3 separate regions of the Homo sapiens genome follow, and regions 1 and 3 are each linked to region 2. Evidence: promoter capture Hi-C in 16 types of primary human blood cells and fetal thymus (Javierre and others, 2016). All regions are on one chromosome and are shown on one strand. The core of a region is centred on a gene start or on the middle of the fragment in contact, and the rest is flanking DNA. Distances in the headings are between cores, read along the strand shown. Region 1 holds the start of ANAPC15 (anaphase promoting complex subunit 15). Region 2 overlaps RNF121 (ring finger protein 121). Region 3 holds the start of NUMA1 (nuclear mitotic apparatus protein 1).

What was found. The method cuts DNA at HindIII sites, captures the fragments that hold promoters and counts their contacts. A CHiCAGO score of 5 or more calls a contact.
Region 1: a contact is called between the fragment with the promoter of ANAPC15 here and a fragment that was not itself captured in region 2, in 3 of 17 cell types (naive B cells, activated CD4 T cells and naive CD8 T cells). The highest score is 6.2, in naive B cells.
Region 3: the fragment with the promoter of NUMA1 here is called in contact with a fragment that was not itself captured in region 2 in 3 of 17 cell types (naive B cells, naive CD8 T cells and total CD4 T cells); the score reaches 5.7 in naive B cells.

The regions. Positions count from the first base shown.
Region 1 is chr11:72,111,445-72,114,232 of GRCh38, forward strand. It overlaps ANAPC15 (anaphase promoting complex subunit 15), which reads right to left and starts at 1,251. Exons shown (of 6, transcript NM_014042.3): 1 at 1,206-1,251; 2 at 1-52. RefSeq lists enhancers at 521-1,058, 730-899, 1,059-1,596, 1,070-1,129, 1,230-1,289 and 1 more and a silencer at 1,260-1,477. The HindIII fragment of the contact is 5,139 bases long and covers 1-2,788 here.
Region 2 is chr11:71,939,684-71,942,385 of GRCh38, forward strand. The region is part of intron 1 of RNF121 (ring finger protein 121); the gene reads left to right. Among named protein-coding and RNA genes, the nearest start is that of RNF121, 12 kb to the left of the region's middle. The HindIII fragment of the contact is 4,567 bases long and covers 1-2,702 here.
Region 3 is chr11:72,078,968-72,081,971 of GRCh38, forward strand. NUMA1 (nuclear mitotic apparatus protein 1) reads right to left here and starts at 1,575. Exons shown (of 27, transcript NM_006185.4): 1 at 1,491-1,575. It overlaps LRTOMT (leucine rich transmembrane and O-methyltransferase domain containing), which reads left to right and starts at 1,883. Exons shown (of 9, transcript NM_001145310.4): 1 at 1,883-1,918. It overlaps LRRC51 (leucine rich repeat containing 51), which reads left to right and starts at 1,883. Exons shown (of 6, transcript NM_145309.6): 1 at 1,883-1,918. RefSeq lists enhancers at 986-1,941, 1,661-1,930, 1,942-2,896. The HindIII fragment of the contact is 5,366 bases long and covers 1-3,004 here.

The DNA.
Region 1 (2,788 bases), core at 1-2,500, 170 kb after region 2:
CTGTTTGACCTTGGCTGAGTCACTTAACCTCTCTGAGCCTCAGTGTCTTCATCTGTAAAATGGGGATAATAACAATTATACCACTGTCAAAGTTATTCTGATAATTAAGTAAATAATGGATCAACAAAGCTGTTTGCAGGCTGTTCAAGGAGGGATGAGAATGGGAGTCAAGTGTAGGGATAGGAATCCAGAATGCAGACTGGCATTATGAAATTATACAAAATTAGAGGTAGCAGGGTTCTACTGAAACTATCCCTACCTCCTCCACACACTAAAACCTGCTTTTTGACCCTTTATGATGGCCCATACCACACCCACCCAGTGTCAGAAATTTAGGACACTAACGACCTCTCATGAATCACAGCCAAATGTCGGGGTGGAGGGATTGTAGCATATGCAAGCAGGGTTCAGTAAGACATTCTAGGAGGCATGAATAAGTGGATAAATAAGTAGATGGAAGATTGAATGGATGAACTAACATTATAAGGGTACAATCAGCTTTGAGCGGCTGAGGGAGCCGACCAGGAGTGCCAGATAATCTGAATTAAACTTAGGACAGGCGAACTGAGGCCCAGCGACAGGCAGAGACTGGCTTTAGGTCATACAGTGTGTCGGGGCTTAGAATTCCTCCGTGAAAGGGATGAGCAGGAGAAAATAATCGATGCCTGGTCCTGCTTTTGTCTTAATTTATCTGACCGACCCAGGGCCAGCCGCTGCCCTTCCCTGTATCTCAGATTCCCAACCCGCGTAATTAGGCACGACGGTAAACACCCTCATGTCCAAGAAGTACTGACAGACCAGCGATCTCGGCTCCGAAAGCCCAACCCACCGTCGCAAAGCCACCGCCCTTTCTTTGCTCATTACGATAATGACCATGCAGTTGACCAACAGAAAGAAAGCAGGGCGGGTCTCAGACAGAAATTTGGCCTTATAGGGTTGCTAAACGCGAAAAAAGCGGGGCCTGGGTAGGACCAATTAACTGAAAGAAATGCTGGGTGACAGGAAGTGACACCAATGAATGACGGACCTTGTGTGACGGGGTGGGGCTTAGTCTCGAGGAAGCGGCCAATGAGCTGGAGCTCTTTAAGGGTTAAGGACTCTCAATATGGAGCTCCTGGGGAGTCGGGTCAAAGGAAATGGGTTTCTCTGGGGGAAAAAGGAATGAAGGGGCAAGGAGACGGTTGCAGCCTTGCGTCTGTACTTACCGCGCCGGGAGGCTGCTGCCGGCGGCGACCCGGAAGCGCTTCACCCAGCCTGAGCGGAAGAACCCACCAGAATCCGGGACTCACCAAACGCATGCGTCCTTCGTCTCCTTTTGTTTTCCCCGCTCCCGCCCACTAAACCGGATGTGACGTTGACCTACCTTAGTCACATTGTTAGGGAAGGAAGTGTGCCGCGCCTACCTATCTGCCCCGCCTTGAGTCTCAGCCAGTCGGCGTCTCCATCCTGGCGCCAGCACTACGGTCTCGTTTAACCACTGCCCCGTTTAACCCCTGCCCTTTTGTTGCCAGTCACCATTTGCTTGTTAACCCCTTCTGAAGAAGAGCTGACAGCAACCTTTTAGTGCGAGGGCCATTCGTCCTGCTGCATCCCAGAAAACTAATCTGTTACTACTTCAGAATTGCTGGTTGATGTTAGGCCCCTCCTATCTGTGCTCTCTCAGCTACAGTTTCCCGTTTGAGCATATTCATTCTTTTTTATTTTTGCTCTGAACAAAAATATTAGAGTTACAATATTACTATATTCCAGGCCTTGCTAGAAACTGGGGATAAATCTAGGAATATGGTCGCTTCCCTGGAAGACCTCACAGTCCAGGGAAGCCAAACCCTGCAGACATGCAGTAGACTTAGTGGTCTCTCTTAAGGTTGCTTGTTGAGTTTTGACATTGGAGATTATGTACAGACTTGAATGACTAGTTAGCCTCAGGCACAGCATTCTGTTGCTGGGGGAATCAGCTGCCCTCCTCAGGCCTGGGCCAAGTACACTTAGAGATCGCCCTCGTCACCTCTCCCATCCTTTGCTGATGCCTCTGTTCTAGTAACCTCTGACTCAGCTTCGCCTTTAGAGATACTCATGCTTTCTGGCAACAGAGGTCCTTCAAACCCAATTCCTATTAAACTCCATCACTTACCAGCCTCTTTCAGGGACAGCAGTTATCCGCATTTCCAGTACTGTCCTGGCCAGATGTGTGAGTTTTGGCAATTCCTTTTCCTCTCTCTGGACTCAGCTTCTTTGTCAACCAGCATCATAATCTCTGCCCAGCCTTCCTTCTATCCTGGGCTGATGTGAAGATTGGATAAGAATTGTTCAAGAGGTCGTGTACTGTGCATATTGAATGTGATTATATTGCCAAATAGCACTGTTTGTTATAGTTTTTCATTAAAGAGTAAACTTTGCCTCTTGGAAATGACTACCTTTTTCATTCATTCAACAAATACCTACTGAGTGCCTTAGTATATGTCCATCACTATTCTTAGTAGTGGGTATACAATAGTAAACAAAACAGACCAAAAAAGTCCCTCTTTTCATGCAGCCTTCATTCTGAGAGAGGTAAACAATAAAGAAGATAGATAAATAAAATATGTAGTTGTAAGATTGCAGTAAATAAGAGAAAAAATAAATCTGAGAAGTGGGAATAAAATATTTGCAGGGGAGGTGTTTTATTTCAGACTGGGGGGCCAAAGTCACTGGGAAGGTGACTTTTGAGTAAAGGTCTGAAGGAGCAGAGAGCCTTCTGATATTTGTGGAAGAGCATTTCAGAGAGAGAGAATACAAGTGCAGAGGGCCT
Region 2 (2,702 bases), core at 32-2,531:
GATTTGAACATGGTGATACAACCTCATGTCTTCATGTTATAGTGTACACTATTGCTGGTATACACTATGACATGGATTCATTATTTTCAAAAGTCACTATGTATTTATTGTGCACTTAATTATGCCAGGTACTCTTTTTAGTCTTGGGAATTAATAAATGGACAAAGAGACTATCTCTGCTCTAAAGAAGTTATGGTCTAGTTGGGAGAGGAACCCATCAAGTGATAATGACAATATAGTATGAGGAGTAGAGTTATAAATTACGTACAAGATGCCACAAGTGTACAGAAGAAGGAGTGCTTAAGTCTATTTGGGAGCATTAAAGAAGACTTCCGATAGGGTATGGCATTTAGGCTGATTCTTAAAAGTTTATCATGTGGATAGGAGGCCACTTTAGGCCAAGGTAAAAGCATATGTATAAAGGAATAAAGACATGAAGTCTCTAATCCTTGAGCATATGATTCCTCACTAATGATATATTTACTGATAACTGCATGCTTTGTGCAAGTCACTATGTTAGGGATTTGGGTTGAGAGAAAACCATGTTTCTTGCATTCAGGGAATTTACAGTCTAGTTAGAAAAATAAGACATGTAGTCCAGTTGGAAAGATAGTGGCCATAATTCTAAAATAAGAAGTACTAAATGTTTTTTTCCGGTAGAAAAAAACAAAGTACTGTAGGGGAAGTACCCTCTCATGGATATGGCTAGGGAAGACTTCTTGGAGAGGGAGCCATTTGAGTTCGGCCTTCATGGATGATTTGAATTTCATTAGAGCATTAGGAATGAACGCCCAAGGTCAATGTTGAGAAATGAGGATGTATTTGTGATTAGCAAGTAAGAGAAGAGTAAGAGCTAAATTAAAAAAGGTAGGTTGGGGCCAACATGAGGTTGACTTTTGAATGCCAGGCTGAGGAGTTTGGATACATTTATTCATTCCTTCAGTCACCAATTATTGAGTTCTGATATATGCTAGATACTGTGCTGGGGACACAAAGATGAAAATGTGGCTCCTGCTCTCACGAGATTAATAGTCCTGTGAGGTAAACCAGACATGGGAACAGATGGTTGTAGTATAGTGTCAGCATGTGTTAAGTACTGTGATGACACAAAGGAGGGAGTGATTAACTCTGCTTCGGGAATCCTTAAAGACTTAATGGAGAAGATGTTTTGAGTTTGTTCTTGAGGATTAAGTTGAGTTCAATAGGTAGTCAAAATCAGTGAGGTAAGGAAGAGTGAGTGGTCCAGCAAAATGAAAAGATATGCAAGGCTTGGAGACGTTAAACAGCGTGGAATATTCTGGGACTGTACGCAGTTCTGTATGACTGGAATTTAGGTTAAACGTAAGGGGATAGCAGTGAGTGACTGTGCTAAAAAGCCTGGGCTGTAGAGAGCCACTGAAGAGTCTTGAGCAGGGGAGTAATGTGTTTAGATCTCTGTCTCAGAATGACCAAGTCTAATTGAAGTTTGGAAGTTACTTTTGGAAGGATCAGGTTGGAAAAAGGAGAATAAATCAGTTAGGAGATATTGCAGTAGTTTAGGAGCGAGATGATGCGGACCTGAGCTTGAGCAAAGACAGTAGGGTAGAGAGAAGTGAGCAGCTATAAAAATGTTAAATAGCAGTGCTTTCACTTATTTATGTTTTGCCCTTTATTTCTCTCCCTAATTCGTTCACTCATGTATTCAGTAAACATTTATTAAGTTTGTGGTCTGTATTAATTATTCATTATTTCCTTCTTCAAATACTTGTGACTTCAGTGTCAAACATTTTTCTAGGTCCCAGTAATTCAGCAGTGAACAAGACAACTGAGGTCCTTGCTCATATTAGGTTTAGTTTCTAATGTGGTAAAGTAGATAACAAATAAACAGGATAACTCCAGATGGTGACAAATGCTTTGAGAAAAGTAATGTAATGTGATAAAGATGACTAGAAGAGAAAGGCTACTTTAAATAGGGTGATTATGGAAAGCCTCTGAGGAAATGCTACTTGAACCAAGTCCTGAATGGTGAAGACCTAGCAATTTCGAGATTTGGAAGCAGATATGTTCCAAGTGGAGGGAGAAGCAAGTACAAATTAATGGGAATGAACAAGGCATGTCCTGGGACCAAAAAGAAAGCCAGTGTGACAGATCATAATTAGCAAAGGAAAAATGGTTCTGTATGAGGTCAGGGAGTCTGGCAAGGTCAGATTTATAAGGCCTTGTAGCTGCTGTGATACATGTTGAATTTTATTGAGCGTGTAATGAGAATTTTTTTTTTTTTTTTTTTTGAGACGGAGTCTTGCTCTGTTGCCCAGGCTGGAGTGCAGTAGCGCGATCTTGGCTCGCTGCAAGCTCCGCCTCCTGGGTTCGTGCCATTCTCCTGCCTCAGCCTCCCGAGTAGCTGGGACTACAGGTGCCTGCCACCACGCCCAGCTATTTTTTTGTATTTTTTATTAGAGACGGGGTTTCACCATGTTAGCCAGGATGGTCTCAATCTCCTGACCTAATAATCCATCTGCCTCGACCTCCCAAAGTGCTGGGATTACAGGCATGAACCACCGTGCCCGGCAATGAAAAGATTTTGATTGGGTTTCAAAATGGGAGTGATGTGAGCTGATTTTCATTTTTTAAAAGATCTTTCTGGCTGCTTTGAGAAGAATGGATTGTAGGAGGTGACTCAGTGAGAGGGTTAGGAAGTTATGGTAATAGTCCATATGGGAGAT
Region 3 (3,004 bases), core at 325-2,824, 140 kb after region 2:
ATACTAGAGAGAGGGAATTATGTATTAAAGCAAGAAAATATCATCACGTTTTCAAGAGGGAGTGCCATTCCAGTAAAGAGGACAGCTTAATACTGAGGTTCAAATGCCACTAAATGAAAACGGGAAAGCGAAATTCCTGTGCCCTTTCAGCCCAAGAAATTATTCCAAAGCATACATTTATTCCCATTACATGTCGCAAATCCTGCCTAGCCATTAGGATACAGTGACGAAAAAGTCTCTCGTTATCTAGAAGGGCAGACAAACACGCAGACTTTTAAAATACCAGATGGCAGGCCGGGCGTGATGGCTCACGCCTGTAATCCCAAGCACTTTGGGAAGCCGAGGCGGGCGGATCACGAGGTCAAGAGTTCAAGACCGGCCTGGCCAAGATGGTGAAACCCTGTGTCTACTAAAAATACAAAAGTTAGCCGGGTGTGGTAGCGGGCGCCTGTAATCCCAGCTACTCGGGAGGCTGAGGCAGGGAACTGTTTGAACCCGGGTGGCAGAGGTTGCAGTGAGCCGAGATCGCGCCACTGCACTCCGGCCTGGGCGATAGGGCGAGACTCCGTCTCAAAAAAAAAAAAAAATGACAAGTGCTAACTCAGAGGTAAGCAAAAGAGAGTACCCAGAGGCGGCAGCATCAACCCAGTGGGCTCCCGCCCACCCACAATCTTCACACAGTCACACCACTTATAGTCATAAATTTGTACTCTCCGAGGTGCGTGTATGAAACATGTTATCTGTGAGAGTCCATGGATGAAAAACAAAAACAAACAAAAATTAAAAAAAAAAAAAAAAAAGACTTAACCTGTTTTGACCAGGACAACCACCCCAGGAAGTAGGTAAGGCAGGTAAGGTCATTGTTTACATATATGAAAAGTGAGGCTCAAAATACACTGACCAGTCCAAGACAACGCGCGCCCCCACAAAGCACCTTCCCCGTCCCCATTTATGCCCAACCCATAAACCCAAAGTAGAGCCAACCTCGCACTGGCTACGTAACCCGGGCCAAGCTAAACATTATAAACCTCAGGCTCCCCATCTTTAAAGTATAACAGGTGGTTAGAAGATTAAAAAGATAAACATTTGGCAGGTCATTGTGGACGGTGTAGCTCAGAAAATGCTGACTACTGCACTACCATAACTACTGCTATTGTTAACGATAAAAGGCAAAGACTTTCCAGGACCCGACCCCTCGCTTACAAGCCTTTCGGGAACTTGCCCTATACCCCCGACCCCAGTCACCTTCAGATTTAATTCCACAGACACGCCCCCAAACAGACCCTCCCCTTTAAGGCACCCCCCCCCCCCCCGGCTCCTCCCTCTCAGGCGCCTCTCCTCACAAACCTTACCCCCATAGATTCTGCCCTTTCGGACTCGGTTATGGAGGAGGCCTTCCGCTCGCAGCGGCCTCTCCAGCACCCCTTTTAGGCCTGAGCACCCGCAGGGGTGCCCAGGCCGCACGCCAAACGCGGGCCCGCGCCGGTTACCTGGCTGCGCGCTCCCGCTCTGCCTCGCGATTCTCCGGAATCGTACCTCTTCGTGGGCTCGCGCCAGCGCTGTGAGCGCACAATTAGTTTAAACTATGGCCCCGCCCCCTCGCGCTGCCCTCTGATTGGCCTCTGTCGGCGGGGCCCGCTTAAGGACCCGGGAAAAGGAAGTTTGAGGGCCACTGGGAAAGAGAAGGGGTATCACCGCTTCCGGACCCCGGCCTGTACTTGAAGGCAAAGAGAACTACAAATCCCAGCGTCACCCGCGGCCTTGAAGCCCCGCCCCTGACAAACTGAAGGTCCCGGTAAGCATCGCGTCAGTACTTATGGCGCCTGCCGGGTTGTGGTGACGAAAGCAGTTGCCATGGAGTTGCTCTGAGTAACCCTGAGGCAGTGGGACGCCAAGACTGGAGAGGAAGCGACTGCGGGTGAGTCGGGCGGGAAAACAGGAAACCCGTTCTAGGGGACAAGAGATCTATGGAGAAGGGAGGGGCACTCACAGAACGACTAAGAACCTTCCTGCTCGGGGATCTGAGATTTCCCCCACCGACCCTCATCACCTTTCACAGCGAACAAGATACAACACTCACATGGGACAGACTGGGCGAGGGGGAGCAGAGGGAGGGATAGGCGTTGAGATATATATCCATACAGATTTGGGGATGCTTAAGAACCACCCCCAGGGCCGGGAGCGGTGGCTCACGCCTGTAATCCCAACACTGGGAGACCAAGGCGGGCGGACCACTTAAGGCCAGGAGTTCGAGACCAGCCTGAGAAACATGGCGAACCCTGTCTCTACCAAAAACATAAAAAAATTAGCCGGGCTTGGTGGCGCGCTCCAGTGGCCCCAGCTACTAGGGAGGCTGAGGTAGAAGGATCGCTTGAGCCCGGAGATTGAAGCTGCAGTGAGCCGTGATCACGCAACTACACTCCAGCCTGGGCTATAGAGCGATACCTCCATCTCAAAACAAAACAAAACGAAACAAAACAAAAACAAAACAAAACAACGAACCCCGCCCCCAACGCAAACATAAAGCTCCCAAAATCGGATGCTTCAAGTTCCAGGCATAACCTGGGAGATCAGAAACGCCCTCAGAAATGGGGTTGGTTTTCCTCTGAGGAACTGAGACCCTCTTCCAAGACATGCGGTTAGCATTAGATTGAGTAAATCGCAGTCGCTACCCTAATTCTAGAGATGTAGGAAACTTCCTGGGGCGTGAAGTGCCTCATTCCTTCTTCTTCCAAGGAGTAAAACCCCTTCTCAATCTGTCCCCAGATTCCCTTTTCTCCCCACACCTTCTCCGTGGTCCGCTACTCAAAGCTCTACAGTTAGAGCTTCATTTTTTTTAGTACTCACGACAGATCTATTACATTTAGTAACCTACCCAGTGCTTTCACAGTCTCTCTTTTGATACTCTTAACAGCTCTGTGAGTCAAGGATATTTATCTTCATTTCACAGATTGGAAAACTGAAACCCAGAGAAAAGGGACTTGCCCAAGGCCACACACCAAAT